4 separate regions of the Homo sapiens genome follow, and all the other regions are linked to region 3. The links are contacts of gene promoters, found by promoter capture Hi-C in blood cells and fetal thymus (Javierre and others, 2016). All regions are on one chromosome and are shown on one strand. Each heading gives the region's core, a stretch centred on a gene start or on the middle of the fragment in contact. The rest is flanking DNA. Distances are from core to core; before and after follow the strand shown.

Evidence for each region. The method cuts DNA at HindIII sites, captures the fragments that hold promoters and counts their contacts. A CHiCAGO score of 5 or more calls a contact.
Region 1: a contact is called between a fragment that was not itself captured here and the fragment with the promoter of ZC2HC1A in region 3, in 1 of 17 cell types (naive B cells). The highest score is 6.0, in naive B cells.
Region 2: a fragment that was not itself captured here is called in contact with the fragment with the promoter of ZC2HC1A in region 3 in 1 of 17 cell types (activated CD4 T cells); the score reaches 6.8 in activated CD4 T cells.
Region 4: a contact is called between a fragment that was not itself captured here and the fragment with the promoter of ZC2HC1A in region 3, in 1 of 17 cell types (M0 macrophages). The highest score is 5.2, in M0 macrophages.

Annotation. Positions count from the first base shown.
Region 1 is chr8:81,718,122-81,722,904 of GRCh38, forward strand. ZFAND1 (zinc finger AN1-type containing 1) reads right to left here and starts at 3,179. Exons shown (of 8, transcript NM_024699.3): 1 at 3,106-3,179; 2 at 61-103. The coding sequence starts at 3,160. RefSeq lists enhancers at 2,213-3,157, 3,085-3,134 and silencers at 2,675-2,814, 2,845-2,914. The HindIII fragment of the contact is 2,343 bases long and covers 1,789-4,131 here.
Region 2 is chr8:81,838,031-81,843,116 of GRCh38, forward strand. It overlaps SNX16 (sorting nexin 16), which reads right to left and starts at 4,155. Exons shown (of 8, transcript NM_152836.3): 1 at 4,092-4,155; 2 at 1,582-2,052. The coding sequence starts at 1,956. It overlaps LINC02235 (long intergenic non-protein coding RNA 2235), which reads left to right and starts at 4,589. Exons shown (of 8, transcript NR_170320.1): 1 at 4,589-4,641. RefSeq lists enhancers at 3,229-4,161, 4,089-4,138, 4,570-4,839 and a silencer at 3,709-3,758. The HindIII fragment of the contact is 404 bases long and covers 1,978-2,381 here.
Region 3 is chr8:78,663,165-78,667,803 of GRCh38, forward strand. It overlaps ZC2HC1A (zinc finger C2HC-type containing 1A), which reads left to right and starts at 2,925. Exons shown (of 9, transcript NM_016010.3): 1 at 2,925-3,000. The coding sequence starts at 2,985. LOC105375911 (a long non-coding RNA gene) reads right to left here and starts at 2,815. Exons shown (of 4, transcript XR_007060972.1): 1 at 1,841-2,815. RefSeq lists enhancers at 2,048-2,556, 2,557-3,064, 3,029-3,078 and a silencer at 2,739-2,958. The HindIII fragment of the contact is 1,596 bases long and covers 2,340-3,935 here.
Region 4 is chr8:81,858,043-81,862,716 of GRCh38, forward strand. All of the region lies in intron 5 of LINC02235 (long intergenic non-protein coding RNA 2235), which reads left to right. Among named protein-coding and RNA genes, the nearest start is that of LINC02235, 18 kb to the left of the region's middle. The HindIII fragment of the contact is 291 bases long and covers 1,185-1,475 here.

The sequences.
Region 1 (4,783 bases), core at 1,710-4,209, 3.1 Mb after region 3:
TAACCTCATATTAATAAACACTAAAATTACTCCCAAATCCTGCATAAAAACTTAACTTACCAAAATATTCCTGAACAATCATCACACACAAATGGAAGAAAATCTAAAATTGAGAGAAAATGTATATACTGGTCAGTATCTGATTTTGATTTAGTTTTCTTAAGCAAGAAGACAACCTCTATGGAAAAACTTCCCATTTTGACTAATATCCTAGTGTAGCAAGCACTATGTAACCACTCTAACAAAATTAATCACAACTTCAATAACTGACAGAAAGTAATTGGATTAACATAAGGTATTAATAGATGTTACTTGTAACTTTACTAAGTCAGACAAAAATAAGTTCTAGTGGTTTTCTTTTTCTTTTTTGTTTTGTTTCCCAGATTTACTAGGTGTTGTTTTTGATGACTGTATACTGCAAAAATTCCGCATTTGGAGTGAAAAACCTGGGATTCAATTCTGATTCCACTGCTTACTAATCTAACAGTGCTAGGCAAGTTACTTAACAGTAAAACTTTGGATATATATATTTTTATATATATCCAATAAATATATATATTTATATCTGTGTACTAATATATATGTGTGTGAACAACATATATATATATATATCGCCAAAGCTTGACTATATTCAAATATATTTATATTTATATATACACCTATAAGATTTATGGTATTTCAAATATATATAATTTGATGTAATATATAGTACAGTTAGTATAAAGTATATGTGTGTGTGTTTCTATATATGTATGTAAATAAACATATACAAAACCAAAGCTCTTTTATTGGGTAAGAAAAATAGAAAGATATAGACAGGTAGATACAGAGACAGATATAAAGATACAAGCACATCCTTTCTGTGTATATATGTATATGTGTGTATGCATGTGTATCTATATCTGTATCTATGCTGTATGCCACACCGACCTCACAGTGTACTTACAGAAACCAAATGAGATATATATGAAAGATCAGAATAGTAATACAGTAACTATAATTAATAAGAATAATACAACAATTAACTTCTTTTGAGTATACTCAACTCAGAACAGTACTGCAAGGGGCCAGGCACAGTGGCTTAAGCCTGTAATCCCAGCACTTTGGGAGGCCGAGGGGGGCGGATCACCTGAGGTCAAGAGTTTGAAAACAGCCTGGCCAACATGGCGAAACCCCATCTCTACTGAAAACACACACACACACACACACACACACACACACACACACACACACAAATTAGCTGGGCGTGGTGGTTCATGCCTGTAATTCCAGCTACTCAAGAGGCTGAGGCAGGAGAATCGCTTGAATTCAGGAGGCAGAGGTTGCAGAGGGCCGAGATCGCGCCACTGCACTCCATCCTGGGTGACAGAGCCAGACTCCATCTCAAAACAAAACAAACAAACAAACAAAAAAGGACAATACTGCAGTGACTGGGTGGAGATGCTTAATATTTTGCGACTTTTAATAATCAAGTATTAGATGCAAACCAGAAGGACCCAGGGGAAAGAGTTAAGTCAAGACAACTTCCCAGCACCTGATACCATCCTTCAATCCCTCCAGAAGGTAGATAAAATTTAGGATATACACTTGACGTAGTCTAAATCTTAACTGCTTTCCACTAGTCCCAAACAGATAGGCCTGGCCTCATCTCAGTTATTGACACTAAAGACATATATAGCTGGAAAGGAAAATGAACTATGTCATGAATGGCATATAATGTGTATTGGACTCACTAGCGAAGGATCAGGCATAGACACACATAATTCACAGTCAAAACCCAAATGGCTAAGCTTCCACATGAAAAAAGTCACACTGGCTTGTTATTACAGCCAGTGGTGAAAGATAGATAGATAGATGGCTATAAGTAACAAGAACCTAGAAGGGATTGTGTCACCTGTCCTATCACGCATTCCCACAGTAGAAATCACTAATCAATTATGGAACTCCACTGAAACTGGGCTAAATCTCAAGAGTCTTTGACACGGTAATTCAGGCACTTGATACCAATGACTGAAGTTCCAAGGGGAGATTAAACCTGTTTGCTACCTTATGTAGTGTGTGAAACCTAGTAACAACGACTGAGCAGTCTGTGTGGTTCTAATGCTTCAAAAACTTGCCTTTTCAAGGTGTATGGCATCCTGAAGCCAATGCCACATCACCTTGGACTAGGTATATCCCAAGGTCTCTCAGTGCAATGGGGAGAGCCCATTGCCATATTATTAACTAATTCTCTCTAAAATGCAGCTTACTAGTTGGAAAGGTCTTCCGTGTAAAAGACTGTAGTTTACACCCTTATGTGGTCCAAGCACCAAAATCAATAATCTGTAAATGTTTGTTCAAACAATAATAATGAGAATCAGGGAATGACAGAGCTGGGAGAGCATGATGACCATTTGGTGGAATAATCTGAGGATCAGGATGCCTTTGAGAATTTGATAAAAGCTAAGGAAGGGCCTTCTTCCGGACACACATCCACGTGAACACTAGTTGGGCGAGTTGACCTCCCCCAACTCCTCCTGACAGCTACGTAACAGATAAGTAAAAAAAAGTATGGGAAAGTAGCTGGCCGTAGGTCGCAGTGGCAAAGCCAAAAGACAACAGTCCCAGACCAAACCTACGCGTCCCCATACCCGCGCTCAGCAGAGTAAGTGTGAGCCACGCGATCCAGCAGTGGGCTTCGTGCACTGCTCGGACACGGCACACTCGAACACCAAAATGAACACTGCAAGGTACGTTTTCAGGAATTGCATGGCTTCCTTCCAAGGAGACCACACGTCATTTCAAAAGCTCACGGCCAAAAAAAACCCGCACCAACCGATCTCACTGCAGCCCCAGAAGAAACGCTCCCACCCCGCTCCTCAGGCCCTGCCTCAGGAATTGCATGGCTTCCTTCCAAGGAGACCACACGTCATTTCAAAAGCTCACGGCCAAAAAAAACCCGCACCAACCGATCTCACTGCAGCCCCAGAAGAAACGCTCCCACCCCGCTCCTCAGGCCCTGCCCAGCCTTGTGGCCTCCCTTCACCCGCCGCCACCATCCGCGGAGCCAAAGCGGAGCCCTGGTCTCCCGCGGCCGGGGATGGGGGCTGGAAGCTCCCGGATCACCTCGCTGCCGGCAATGCTCCACCTGGCAGTGCTGCCCGATGTCCAACTCCGCCATCTCTCCGGCGCCGTAAGGGGCGGGGCAAAGCCTGAGGGGCGGGGCAATGAGCGCGCGCGGCGCCTGACGGGAGAGTGGCGGACCCAGAGGCGGAGTCTACAGGTGGGGGCGGGGCCTGGAAACCAGCTGTGCGATTTGTCCTAGGTGCATTCGCCGTGACCAGGAAAGGCCACTGTTCTGTGAGTGTTCTTCTCGGAGCGGAAGGCCTCTCGCCTAGTCCTTAAAGAAATACCCACCTGCAGCCGGGCGCGGTGGCTCACGCCTGTAATCCCAGCACCCTGTGAGGCCGAGGCGGGCGGATCACCTGAGGTCAGGAGTTCGAGACCAGCCTGACCAGTGTGGCGAAACCCCCGTCTCTACTAAAAATGCAAAATTAGCCGGGCGTGGTGGCACATGCCTGTAATCCCAGCTACTCGGGAGACTGAGGCAGGAGAAACGCTTGAACCTGGGAGGCGGAGGTCGCAGTGAGCCAAAATTGGACCATTGCACTCCAGCCTGGGCAAGAAGAGCGAAACTCCGTCTCAAAACATAAAAAAAGAAAATGAAAAAGAAATGCCCACCTGCCTTTCTGGACGACTGCTTACCGCGGTTCCCTGCATACGGCCACGAAAATCAGCAACGGCTTCACATTTATTTTTTTAAAAGTTAGTAGAACTCCAGGAACCAGAACAGTGCCGGGCACACAGTGTTGCAATAATCAAGCAAAAGAGACAGACATGGGTTATTCAATTCCTGAGCCATCCCTCAACCAGTGTTACTTGATTATGTAGTGTAACATACATGCCCCTTGCAAAACAGTCATCAGGCTTTTTAAAAAGTTAATATTTCTTTATCTTTGTCCTTTTTTTTTTTTTTTTTAAATTCTGGTAGGGGGAAAAAAAAAGTCTTAACTCCTGAGCCCCTGAATGTGTACTGAACCTTACAGAGTTCCTCAGAGAACCCAGACTCATTTAGCACAACTACCTGAAGAAAGCTTATGGGATTCCACTGGGATGTAGGGGAGTATCAGGTGCCTGGTGAGCCACTGCAAAGGTACTGAAGGAGAGGTACTTCTGGGTGGGGTACATATGAATGCCATTCCACCAACGTGATGCCAGGCACCATTCAGCGTGGATGGGTGACAATCACCTGCACTCCTGACAGGAACTAGAAAAGTATTCGATGCCTCCTATATACCTTTGGAGATTCCCAATCAATAATCACTGAGGAAGGGCGAAGGGTGACACTAGGAAAGGGGAATCATTTCTTCTGCATTTGCTCTTGAGCCAATCTATTTAAGATTTCCGTCTCAGAATTGCTTGAGTCTCTGGAGAAACTTTATAAGATGTCATCTGGCTATCCCAGCCTCCATAGCTTTTCTTTTATTAAGATGAGAAAACCAGTTCATAGACATTAAATGATTGGCTCACATTAGTGGATGAACCAGGACAAAAAATGCAAGTACTAAAGACTTTTGGTATTCTTGGATCTAGGGATCAGTGGCTTACCTAGATTTTATGTTTAAGTTGATCAGATCAATCAATAACAGGTTTCCTGGAATTTTACTAGGTGTTTGGAATGTTCTAGATAGGTGGCAAATATATGTTTTATCAGTCCAATTATTATGGATATGTTTTTATTTTT
Region 2 (5,086 bases), core at 930-3,429, 3.2 Mb after region 3:
TTTGAGTTAATAAGAGAGTTGAGCAAGGTTGCTGGATATGTAAACATAAAAGGACAAATTATATAAAATAGCAGTAAATAGAAAACAAAAATAGATGTCTCTCACAAGAACATCAAACAACATCCATATCCTGAAATAAATCTAACCAACAGATGTAAGAACCCTGCACCAAAAACAACAAAACATTACTAGAAAAAAATGACTTAAGTAAATGGATTAGGTTCATAGATTTGAAAACTCAGTAAAGATGTCAGTTCTCCCCAGATTAATCTATAGATCTAACAAAATCTCAATGCAAAGGGTGAAGAATAGCCAAGGCCATCCTGAAGAAAAAAGCTAAAGTACATACACTGCTACATATCAAGACCTATTATAAGACTTTATTAATTAAGACAGTGTGAAATTAGTAAAGGATGAAAAAATAGAACACAGAAGCAGACCCATGCATTTATGGTCACATGATTTATGACACAGACAACACTGAAAATGAAGAGGAGAGAGAGTGGTCTTTCAAATAAAAGCCTGATTAATTGGTCCCATCTGGAAAAAAAAAAAAAAAAAGACTTGACCCTCACCTCACACCATGGACAAAAATCAATTCTGGTGGTTTACGAATCTAAATGTGAAAGGTCCAACAATAAAGATTTTAGAAGAAAACATAGGACAGTATCTTTGTAGCCTTGGAGTAGGCAAAGATTTCAAAAAGTGCTAGCCATTAAAAAAAGTAATAAATCAAGCCAAATTAAAATTAAGAACTTTTGTTTATCAAATGTATTATTAAGGAATTGAAAAGGCAAACCACAGAGTGAGAGGATAGTCATAATACATGTATCTGAAAAAAAAATTATATCCAAAGTGCACAGAAAACTACAAATCAAAAGGGAGACTTCCCAAAAGAAAAATGAACAAAAATCATGCACAGATATTTCACAAGAGAATATCCAAACAGCCCAAAAAAATTTTAAATTCAATTAGTCATTAAGAAAATTCAAATTAAAACCACAACCAATGTGATATTACTCTGTACCCATGAGAACAGCTGAAATGATAAAAATGTTAAAATATCACATGTTAGGAAGCTATGGATCAACTGGAACTCTTATATGCTGCTTTTAGGAGTATAAATCAGTACAACCATTCTGAAACACTGTTCACCAATATCTTTTAAAGCTGGGCATGTAATTTGGCAAGGCTAAAGAAAAGAGACCAGATGCAAAAAGAGTATATAATTCCATTTAGATAAAGTACAAAAATAGGCAAAATTAATCTAGGCTATACAAAAGTATTGGGTGAATGGGTCCTGACTGGCAGAGAACCTAGAGCATTTAAGATTCTAGTAACGTTCTTTTCCTTGATTTATGTGCTATTAATAGTTACATAGGTGTGTCTGGTTTGTGAAAATTTATTAAGGTAAAGCAAAAGTTTACTACAACATGATAGAATTCAGTGGTGTAAAAACCATTAGAATTTCATATTCAAGAAATTATAAGTACAAGTTTACATTAATTTAACACTGGTTTGAACACAGAGATTAGCCAATCTTTCACTTTGTAGTGTTATACAGCAGAAGTCAATACTTACAGTAAATTTAGCTCTTTCTTCCATCACTTCATAACCCAGTATAGTAGGTGTAGATGGTCTATCTTCCCAATTCACTGTTTCCGGATTTTGTTCTTCAGTGTCTCTTGGTCTAGTAGAATACTCAATGGAAGAAGCTGTACCTGTAAATTTAGTCCTAATGAGGGGACTGCTACAGACAGATGAAGTATTATCCATTTGATCAGGAACACTTGTCTGTTTAAAATTACCCATATTTGAGTCTTCTAACTGGCCCTTAGAAGAATTTGAGCTTGTTGAGACACTGCCAAAAGAAGAACTTCTTTGATTTCTGTTTGTTGTAAAACTGGAAGCAGAGTTTCCTATGGGCATAGGAACTGGGACATAAGGAGTTGCCATCTTCTTTTGGCTTTTCCAACAAGCTTGCACACTGTTGAGTCCACTTAGAGAACAACTAATATGCAATCCATTATTTTCTTCTTAGGAATTCACTATCTAAAAATGAAAAGGACATATTAAAAGGTTAGTCTTTAATGTGCAGCAGGATTCAAAAGAAAAGTATTCTTTTCAATTTTATGACACTATTATTTTATTTGGAATGAAAACATACCTCAAACCCCTTCTCCCAGTTGTCTTTAAGGACTCCTATTTGCAAGATAGAGAGAGCAAAACTACTTCACACTCTTTTTCCTTGACTCCATGTTACATGTTATCCCTTTTTCCTCTACTTTATTCCCTTGTGAAGTATTTCTGTAAAGTTCATTTTAACCTGATTTCATGTATGTAAAAGTTGGTAGGAGAAAGATTGGTAAAGACCCTTCTGAAGCTTTATTCCATGCTTATCATCTTGACAGTACTACATTCAGTACAAGAGAGAAAAAAGAAAAGGAAGAAAACTATTTACATTACCTCTGGATTTAATCAGAAAGGGAGGAAATCTATTCACATTACCTTTCAATTTAATTAGTGAAACTATAAAGATTTACACAGAGTAGTAACAATGAACCAGATGCTTTGATGCTACATAGTATAATTCTATAGAACCCAGGATTAAAAATACACACTTGGTCAAGTTACTCAAATAAAACCCAGTGAACACTGAACTTATATGCAACAAAATTAAATAGTGAAAATTGTAACCGTTCTTCACAGCTTACAGGTCATCACTAATTCTGCTCTACGATAAACTGAGGGTATTTAAATCTTTATAACTTACACTCAAGAATCTGTTATCAAACGGACCAGTATATCTTGTGTCAGAATAGTATCATAACACAAAGAAGAAATGGTTTACTATTACTTTGTTAAATAATAAACTCATAAGAAACTGTAACAACTACAGACCAACAAAATGACAAGACTACACACAACAATAACTGCCCAACTTTTCATACGAAACTCTACTGGTGGGAAAGGTAAGAAATGAGTCACCTGGACTTGGAAAGATGCTGAAATAAGATTTTTAACTCTGGGCTGGGCGCTGTGGCTCACGCCTGTAATCCCAGCACTTTGGGAGGATGAAGCGGGTGGATCGCCTGAGGTCAGGAGTTCGAGGCTAGCCTGGCCAACATGGTGAAACCCCGTCTCTACTAAAAATACAAAAATTAGCCGGGCATGGTGGCGCAGGCCTATAATCCCAGCTACTTGGGAGGCTGAGGCAGGAGAATCGCTTGAACCCGGGAGGCGGAGGTTGCAGTTTGCCGAGATCGTGCCATTGCACTCCAGCCTGGGCTACAAGAGGAAAACTCCGTCTCAAAAAAAAAAAAAAAAAAGATTTTTAACTCAAGTGGCTCTCGGCAACATTTCCCCATTATCAAAGATTCATGAAACTTTAGCTGCTGATTCACCGCTCCTCGGTTCCGCCTGACGGCCTCCCCAAAAACAAGTAAGTCTGAAATCTCAACCTTCTCAAGGTCCGAGGGATCTACCTGGCCTTTGCCACTCTACTACCTGAGGCCGCCTGGCTGGGGGGAGGTCGCATATCAATACATATCAACACAACCACTGACGTCCGAAGATGTGAGCGCTACCCAAGCGTTAAAAAAACAAAACAAGCAAACAAACAAACAAAAAAACGTGCTGTGCTCATTAGGAGCGTCTTCGCCTCTACCCTGATGCGGAGTTGCTCCCAGGACGCTCAGTTCATTCTCACTCTGGAAAACCTCAGGTGAGGTGGCCCGACTCTGAGCAACCCCGTGGGCGGGAGGAAAGAGGCAAATACCAGGCACAGTTCGACCCTCGGAAGGTAAGGCCGGGGTCTGCGCCGGTCACGGGTCTTCCGCACTGCAGGCGGCGAGACCCGCAGCTCCCTGGGATCACAGACTCTCCCGCCTCCGCTGACCGGTGCGCGCCCAGCGCCTCCCAGACGCACAGTGGGGTCGGCGGTGGCCTGAAGGTGGCTGGGCTTCCTGCGGCGCCTCTCCACTCTCCCGCGGAGCCCCTTGCCGCCCGCCAGACATCAAGGTTGCAGGTGTCACCCGTACGAGAACCCGGGACAGCGACCGCCTGTCCTGAGGTAATGACCCAGTCTTTACCTCAGCCCCCTCGGCGATCCCGAACGAGCGCGCTTCCCGGTGACGGTTAAACCGGACTCTCCTTAACCGCAGCTTTTCGCCTCCTCCCTCAGCAGCGAGAAGCCTCACGTGACACCCCCGCCCCAAAAGCAGCTGCTCCCCGCCTCAGCCAGTCTCTGCCCGGGCCCAAGATCCCTGCTGTGTGGAAGGAGGGGCCGAACTGGGCGGGGGGGGGGGGGGGGGGAGAGAGAGAGAGAGAGAGGGAGGGAGGGAGGGAGGGAGGGAGAGAGAGAGAGAGAGAGAGAGAGAGAGAGAGAGAGAGACAGAGACAGAGAGAAAGAGAGAGAGAGAGGGCAAGAGCGAGAGACAGAGAGAGAGAGAGAGAGAGAGAGAGAGAGAGAGAGAGAGAGAGAGAGAGAGAGAGAAAGAGAAAGAAAACGAGCGAGGGAGAGAGCGAGAGCGAGAGAGAGAGAGAGAGAGCGTCACACACACATCTCTGCCGGAAGTGATGTCACGGCATGGGCGCCCGCCCACCGGAGGAGCGACTGGAGTTGATCGGCTGGGCGCTCAGGTAGCGAAGATAAATGTAATCTTGTGGCAGGAAATCGACATTCTCTGCACTATCTTTAGTTTTCCAACTGAACTTCTGAGAAATGGAGGCTACAATACCTAGTTTGCCAAACAGGAGAAGACTACAATTCCCAGAAGGAACTGCGACCAACATTGGTCCGTGCTCATACTTTGCATCATGGGACTTGTAGTCATCACCAGCTTGCGCTGATTCTAACAGGTTATAGATTGTTTTCTAGAATTAGCAGCGCTTTAAGGGATGACAATCGATTAGAAGAGTAGGAAGATAGAACACTGCTTAGTAGCTGATCCGTTCTACATAATTCAGAAGTTCTCATTGGCAGAGAACCCCTGAAATTCTGTAGTGTCTTTTTACTATCCGGTGAGCAATTTGATCCCGATGATGGAATATTAGCCTTGTTAGACATGCGCTTCTGAAGACCTGT
Region 3 (4,639 bases), core at 1,675-4,174:
GCCAACTCAGAATATGCTTCCTCCCTCTAGAACAGTTTTAAGGGAAATATTTTCTTATGTTTTTGATGAAAATTATCATTTTCTTATGATTACCAAATGTATGAATTATTTTTATATGCTAAATTGTGGTAGGTTATTCCTCTTCTGGTCATGGAAGGAAGAAATGTCCTACATAGTGGAGGTGATAAACTGAGTTCTCACCGAGACTCAGAATCTCATTTAGTTGTGCTCTGCAAATGATATGAATGAGAACCAATGGCTTTCTCTAAAAGGGGACTTGAACTTCGTGTGGGATTTAAGAGACTGGAGCTTTGAAACAAGAAGCTATATGCAGCTTGCTCAGCTTTTTGGGATGTGCAGAATAGATGTGGATCTGCTTAAGGGAATGGTGGTTGAAAGCAATATAATGCAAAGTGGAAAGAATCAAGGTATGATGTAATAAAACACAGATACAATATCTATTTCAGTTAAGTACTAGTTTTGTGATCTTGACCAAGTCAGAAACATCTCTGAAAGTTTGTTTTCCTTTTTGTATGATAAGGAGGTCAGAAGATCTCGAATTCTTATTGATCTATAAATGTTATTTTCAGTTAACAAGATCACATGGCAGGTAGAAAAATTATGTACAGGTAAGTGCTTAAAAACATGAGAAGAAGCTGAGTTTCATTCATTTGAGTAACTGGCTAGTGATAAAATGGACTTGAAGCATAGAAGGTACTCAACAAACATTTGTTGAATGAATGCATGCCGAAAAATGGATTAGACTGGAGAGGAAGTAATGTCATGATACAGTGCCAAGACAAGACTCTCAGGCTAGGTATGTAGGCGGCAGAGGAAAGAACTTATTGAAGGCAGATAGGAAGAAGTCCTCTTTACTCAGGGGTCAGAATCAGGGAAAAGCTGCAGGAGCCAGGGTAGCTGTAGCGTAAAAGTTATGAAGAGACCAAAAGCATAAAAGTTATGAAGATACCTGTAGGGAAGACTAGCAATCATGTTTTAGAGAATTAAGATTCACAATAGAAATGCCTACTCAAATATATGTTAAACAACATGTCTGAACGCTTGGGTTTACACTTGAGGCAGCTATAATAAAAGGCAAGGCAAGGAAAGGGAGTGAGGAGCCCAATCAAATCACCATAGGCTTTAGAATTTAACAGACAAGAGTGTAGCCAAGCTCTACCATCCACTAATAATACAAATATTGACAAAATATTAATTGCTCTGAGACATCTAGAAAATGAACATTTTAATTCTGATAAATGAAGATTGTAGTATCTACTTTGTAGATTTCTTTTGAAGATTTGTGAATATATGAAAATGGCCTAAAACATGCCTCACATGATTTATTCTTTAATGCTATTTTTATTATTTTTAATGTTACTGTAGATTTTATGTCGAATAAGGTATCAGCCAACTCAATATTCGTCTTGCCTTCAGTGAAAGAACTTGTAATTTGTAAAATAATGGCTTCCTTATTTTTGTATTTTCTTCTGTGTGCTTTTTTTTCTCCTTAATGCTCTTTTAAAAGGCCTTCCCTCCCAACCAAAAATTCTACCTTTGCCTTAGTAGCACTAAGGAAGAAAAAGGACCTTTCCGCAGCACCCAGTCTAGAGTAGCTTATTGCCTGCAAGGCTATGGGTTGGCCAAGGAGGCCCAGGATCTCAGAGAAGCAGAAGAGCCAGGGGAACCAGGGAAGGGCGGAGGGAGTCATTGAGGCATGGTTGAAGTGGTCTTTACATGGCTCCACACAACAGATGGACTCTACCACATTCAAATGCACTTGGAGCACCTTCTCAGTAAGAGATGATGCCCCCTCAAGTGTTTGCTTGTTTAAACATACCTTCATGTGAGTGGAGAGTAGGAGGAATCCTGCTTCCTGAAGGTAACTGATTTCATAGTAGATGAAGTTAGATATGAAGTTAAACTCTTCAATTAAACAGATTAACAATAACATTAATCCGAGGTTTGTTATGGACAACACATTAATACTGGTAACTTGCCAGTAGATACGCTATAGTCAGCAAACAGTACAGCTTGTTTACGATTGCTAAATCAAATTTTCAAAGAAATGTAGTTCTGGTAATTGTAAGCAAAACCGTTAAAATGGTCTGAGTTAGTTTTGAAGTTACTTTCATCTTCAGGAGGTTTTGAACTCTGTTAGAGACGGGCGGGCCTCATTCTGTCAGGTTGTAGGTTAATTCCCCAACTCAAACTTCCCCGATCAAACATTGTCAGGCCAGGCGACTGTTTTGGTTTATGGATGATAAAGTATAGGGCCAAGGTAGGCCAAGAGTAGAAGACAGAGGGAGGGCTGGGTTTCACTTCTAATTTTTGGCCCAAGCTTTCATGGTGAGGAAACTGTTTTCAAGGGCTTAGAGCAATCGCAGTTCCACAATCGCAGATAGAAAGTATGATTTCTCTGGAAAAAAAGTGTCTTAACCTATGAAGCTGTGTGTGAAGATCAAGTGTAGGGGATACGCTGAGGTCAAGTCATGCGACCAAAGACCGGAAAACGGAGATTGCTGCATGCAAGCGTGCTGGGCGTTTGTTTGGTTTGCTTGCCTGCTTAAAGTATCCACTGGGAGGGATGGCGGCTAGAAGTCAGAGGCATTGACTGATTGAGGAACTGGTGAAGCGGAGCCCATGAGGTGCTGAGGTACTCTAAATAGGAGGATAAGGTATGAGGCAAAACAAGGCTGGAGTCAAACAAAGGCGCCGTTGCATCGCAGATTGCAACCTGAAGCGGCTCCCGGCTCCCTGGAGAGTAACCCGGAGAGACGGACAGGGGTGGCAGCCAGGAGGAGACCGCAGGAACCTCGCCTCCGCCGCGGCCCCGCCCCCACGGATCCCCGCCCCCGCAGTTGCGGAACCAATGGGAGCTCGGAATGTTAGCGGGTGGGAGGTGCGGCTGGGTTGCTACAGCCAGAGCTGGGCGGTGGCGGGCGCTGCTGAAGGAGTCTCGCTGAGCTCGAGGAGGTGGCGCGATGGAGGGACTGGAAGGTGAGGCGATGAAGGGATGAGGGCAGGACGGCTAGAGCGGGCCCGAAACAGCTGGGGACCCTGGACACCAGTAGCAGGAAGGCGAGGGCTGGTTCGGTGCGGCGGACCTCGCCGCGTCCCGCCGCGCCTCCGGAGGCTGGGGCCGAAGGGAACCGGACAGTCCCCGATGCGGTGGAGCTAACGCTACCAGGCTGCCCCGCCTCAGACGGTCTTCAACTGGGCTTTCCCGCCCGGAGCCAGATCCTGCCCCTGGCAAGACGCCTGCACGTCTCTTCCTACCATTTTCTGATCTTGCTTGACTCCTGAGTGCCCTTTTAGTGATCCCAGTCTCTGGCCAGATTTTGTTTTCCTTGTACTGGACTCTCTCCATTATTGTCCACGGCCTTAACACCAACAGGCCACTTTGTGCTGCAGCCCCGGGGTGTGTCTCCAGCCTCGAGCTCCTGACATTCCTTGGCCGATTTCCCTAGGTAACCGGCTTTTTACATTTCGACAGCATCTTCTGTCGGAGGGATGTCAGAGCATCTCCTAAGGAAGTGTCACTGGCCAGCTTTAGAGCCGGTACAATAGATTACCCGGAGGATTTGATGACTTATTCACGGCCGCTGTGTGAGGAAGAGCCTGTATTGGTTCCTTATCTTTGGGTTTATCTTTGTACTGTAACCATGACTCCAGATTTTGCTTTGTTCCCAGTTCTTTCACTTTTTCTCTATTCTGTTTACCCATTTTATCCTGTGTAATGAAAGCATTCACCTAAAAACAAAGGAAGGACAAAAACCACAATAACTAGCATTGGCAACAACAGTTTCAAGATTTTTTAATTTGTTATGATGAAGAACAAACCTTCAGAATTGAAAGATCCTATTGTCTTGATTTAGCTCCTTTCCCCCGTCTCCTAGTTTACACGGATTCAGTTGGAATTAAGAATGAGCAGAAGCTTTTGAGTCTTGTGTATTGTTGCATGCCAGGGAGTAAAATATTCTACATTGTGTGATGAAGTGCAAAGTGGTAGCCGGTAACTTTTTCAGTCACCTATTCACCAAAAAGCAGATGTAATAACATGAGTAGAAGTTTATTTCGTGCTTTTGCTCTGATAAATGATTCTGATAATTTTCCGTTTGTGGACAGCTGCAGTATGCTATGGCCTAATGAAGGTCTTGTTTTTTGCTTATGTGTTTTTGGAAGATAATTCAAGTTTCCATGAAATAAGGAATTGTAATGATAGTACAGTATATTTTACTTTCAAGATACTTTTGTATCTTGGTGGGATTAAAGCATGGGTTATGGAATTCTCATGAGATTATCATATATAATATGATAAGGTTTTATTACATATTATCTATAAAGTGTTTTGAACAGTTTGCAGATTTTTATTATTTTATTCAACATTTGTTATTAAGACAAAGATCATCATCTGATTTTTCACTTATGTATCCTAGGCACCTAAAACAATGTCTGACACAAAGTAGGTACTCAATAAATATTTGTTGTTAAATAAATGTCTATTATGGGCATCTTTTTAGGTTCTAGGTTGCAGCAAAGAATAAAAATGATAAAGCTTTACTCTCATCGAACCTACATTTTAGTGGACCTTACATTTTAACAGTGCTAAGATATTACTATTGAAACCTTACTACGA
Region 4 (4,674 bases), core at 80-2,579, 3.2 Mb after region 3:
GAGGAATATAGTTGGGTAGAAGAGTGTCCCAGGCAGAAATGTGTAAATGATATTATATAGAAGTTGCTTAATAATGAGACAATATTGTTTGAATTGAATTAAAGACTTGCAGGCATAAAACTGGAATTTTTGCATGGTTATAATAATGGCCTTAGTTCTATGAGGAGCCAGATCTTAATACTTATTCAACAAATATTTCTCGAGTGTCTACCGTATGTGCCAGTTATTGTTCTAAGACTGCAGGAATTTACTAGTAACAAGATATGCAAGTTCACTGTTCTCATGAGGTCCATATTCTGGTGGACTCTGGTGAAGGCTTATGCAGGAGCAGTCATAAACATAATAACTAAGTTTTAAGAATTTATATTCATATTCTTTGCAGAAAATAAAATAGAGTAATGTAAGAGTTGCTTAGGTGGGGGAAGTGAAGCAATTATAGATTGGGGTATCAAATCAAGTTTTTCTGAGAATGTGTCATGACTGCTGAAATTTTAGTGTCTACAAGAAAACAACCTTGCAAAAATCTGGTGGCTGAGCTTCCAGGAAAACTGCCTCACAAGAAAAAGGGAAACTTGTTATCAAAAGTGCTCCCTTTTCCTTCTTGTAAGAGCTCCAATTCCAGGAAGTAAGTGCTAGATGTTTCTCTAATCACATATGTGATCCATATGTCCCTGAGACATTAGATTTCTAAATTTAATACCCAATTCCTCCTCATTTCAAACCCTGACTTCCTTGTTAAGGAATTCAGGCACTTGTAGATTTTTCTTTTCCTGAATATTCTTGGCATCCCTAAAAGGCATATTCAATGCTTTAGGGAATCTGTTCTGGTTGTTGTTCCCTGTCACTGTTGCTGGATGAGGTGCTGTCATTGCCTTTGCCGCTGGCTGAGTCACTGCTTGCCTTGACAGTTCTGCACTAGCCTTTGCCCTAAAAGAGATTAGTCATGCAGTGTCTCTTGAGTTAAATTCTGACACTATGGATGCAAGCTAGAGAGCTGTCGGTAATACTACCTACCTCCACTAAGCTGGAGACTCAGTACAAGTCAACTGAAATGGAGAAGCTTCTTTAATTTTTACATGAATCTGAAAGTATTACAGAGTTTAGTGAGCCAGTTCTTTCAGTTTTGTTCACAATCCTCTTCTCCTCAGGGAGCACCATACTGCGTGGGTGGCTGAGTTGGCAGAAGCTTCTGTAACAACTGTCTAATGGACCTTACTGGCAGCCAACTCTCTGAATCCTTTTTTGTGTCTAGGGAATCCTTGCCCTCTGTATTTTGGTAAGAGGTCAGAGCCCACTTCCAACTATAAAATTGTAAATTGTTAACATACTTGCTTTCTCAGCCTCCTTTGAAACTAATGTATAGATACATGCCCTAGGCATGCTAATCAAATGAACCTGATTGGTGTCTGAAGTATAGGATCTAATGTTCAGTGGTAACAGCATCCTCACAAGACTAGTTTTGTGGTTTAGTTTGAAGCTTTGTTTCTGGCTGCATTGTCCCCAAGCTTTCTAGAATTTCTATGAGCTAGTCAATATCCTTAATATCTTCCTTAAATTGGACACAGCAACTTTTGGCTGCTTGTTACATAAGCATGTGAAGAAAAGGGCCAAGAAAAAGGCTAAGAGAAGAGAAGTACTTATTTCTTGTGCGTGGGGGAAAATATTCTCCTCTTCTCTTCAATTGCATATGAACAAAAAAAGCACAGAGTCCTGACTGCCTTTGGCAGTCATCTTGCAATTGCAAGGGAATCTCTTCCGAATGAAGCCAATAGGAGGACAGCAGAATGAAGAATGATAAAGCATTTAGATAATATCATTGAGCCTTTGATTGTACTGTACCCAGAGTCTACTCTGCTTTTGAATTTGAAATTACATGAGATAATATGTTTTCTATTGATAAGCAAGCTTAAGTTAGGATTTTCTGCTGTAACTATCTATACTACGATAGATACAATAGATACAAATAATAATGGCTAACCTTTATTGAGAATTTAAAATTTTGCAGGAACCTTTAATTTTTTGACAAATATCAGTTGAGCATCTACATATATTTACTTGTTTAACTGTTATAATAATTCTAATGTTACAACAATGCAGTATAGTCATGTGTCTCATAACAATGTTTTGATCATGATGAACTGCATATCTGATGGTGGTACCATAACATCATATTGGAGCTGAAAAATTTCTATCACCTACAGATGTTGTAGCCATTGTAATGTCATAGCACAACACATTACCTTTTCTATATTTAGAGATGTTTATATATACAGACACCATAGTGTTACAATTACCTATAGTATTTAGTACAGTGACCTGCTGTATAGGTTTGTAGCACAGGAGCAATAGGCTGTACCATCTAGCCTAGATGTGTAATAAGCCTAGGTGTGGCAGAAGCTCATGTAACAACTCTCTAATGGACCCTATTGGTAGCCAACTCTCTGAATCTTTTGCTGTGCCTGGGGAATTTCTGCCCTATGTATCTTGGTAAGAGGTCAGAGCACACTTCCCAATATAAAATTGTAAATTTTAATATACTTGCTTTCTCAGCCTCCTTGCTATTTAGGTTTGTGTAAGTACACTCTATGTTTGCACAATGACAAAATCACCTAATGATGCATTTATCAGAATGTATACCTGCTGTTAAGTGATGCATAACTGTATTAAGTATGCAGCTGGATGTATATATTTATACATAGACATGTGCATAAATATGGATATATATGTGTATAAATATAGATATAAGCATGTATATGGATATTCATATAGGCATAGGTATGGCTATGGCTGTAAGTATAGATAAAGGTATAAACATAGAGATAAAGATTATGCACCTAGGTGACAAATGAGATTTCTATGTTGTCCTGAAATAGCTAAAATCCAAAGCTGAAGATACAAGTTGCTAAGTGTCCCCATGTCCTAAGAGTATAGCGCACAAGTAGTTAAAGCTACAATATTTTCCAAAATTCTTATCGAGGAGTGCCAGTTCAGAGAACTGGCCCAATCACCAACATCACCCAGGTACTGTTAGAGGAGGTCTTAAGATAGGATGGTGTGCCCTTTTGGAGAATGCAGTGTTTATGAAGTGTGGCTGTTTCTTTCCCATCACAGCAGTTAACAGTTTAAACAACATTTATTTTTTCAACCTCATAATCAGGATAGCCTACTACTCAATAGAAGATATTGCCCTGTACCCTGCGTCTCTCACTCAGCCCATTTCATCTTTTAATACCACATCCTGAATTAGGTAGTATGCTTTGGGGGTATAAATAATAGAAACTATAGCTTAAACTTGCTGAAAAATTAGTAAGAAAATTTTTGGTTTAATTCTCAGAAAAATCTAGAAATAGGACAGATTTCAGGTTTGGATGATTGCGAGACTTTCTGTTCTCCTTTCTGTGGTGTTAGGTTAATTAGCCTCATGGATGTAGAATGGCTGCTAGTAGTAATCAAGCTTATGTGTTTCTCTGGTTAGTCCAGTGAGAAAGAACTTTTGTCTAAATATGCCAACCAAGAGCCCTGAGATTCATACTGACTAAACTGTTTAAGTCACATGCCCAACAATGTACCAGTGACTTTGGTCAGGGGAATAGAACATGTTTGCTGTCTTAGGTCAACCAAGGTCTACCCCTGAGGTCTGAGAATCTGAATCAGCTTTACATAAAATATGTAGGTTACATGGGCACGAATATGGATATCCAAATTAAAACCTGAAAGCTGTTAGGAAGGGAGAATAGAACATGAATGTTGAAAAACAATCAATAATGTTTCCTCCAAGGAAAGTTAATGACCTAATGAGAGGCGATCAATAGTGAGGATCTATGTAAACCCTAGGTAAGAGGCAGAAAAATTCGGTATCCCAAATAATAGGTAACAGATGTGCAGCTTTTAGAGAAAGGTTGGGATAGCTTTGAATAATTCTTTCTCAATTAAGATCTTCTTACCCTTTCACTGGCATCTGTATTCATTTGTGGAAAGTCAGGTTAGGTGGTATCTAGAACAGGTGGAGGAAGGCTATTCCTTATAGTGATCCATTGGTAGAAGCACTGACTTTATTGTAGCTGCTTAGTGATGAGGAGCATCTGCCCACTGACAACAGTCCAGCTGGAGAAATGGTAATGTTGGCCCCTGCCTCCAGTTTTCTCTTCCCTAGAAGAGAAGAGACACACTCCGTGGAACAGAAAAGGAAGGAGCACACCACCTAGGCTTATTTCCAAAAGCTGGTTGAATGTTTCTATCTGAATGTTCCATCAGTACTTTAAAGTAATCATGTCTTTAGTGCCGCCTCCTCTCTACCTAGCTATTCCTTCTCCTCTCCACTTTGGTGATGATATCGCTGCCTACCAGGCCACCCAAAGCCAAAAACTTGGGAATTGTCCTAGATTTCCCTAACTGTATTACTTCCCCTTGTCAGAAGCAATCCCTGTCGATTGGTTTCTAAATATCAGCTAAAACTATTTTCTCTTCTAGCATCACCACAAATACATACCTTAGGTATTTACATAAATTGCCTTGGACTCATACAGTTAGCTCCAGATTAGTCTCCTAGACACTGGACACCCTTTCTTGACTTTGCTACTAAAGTGAGCATTCTGGAACACAAATCTACATGCATTATAATTCATCGCTCAAAATTCTTTATTATTTCAGTCACTTAAGTTGGAGTCTCTACCA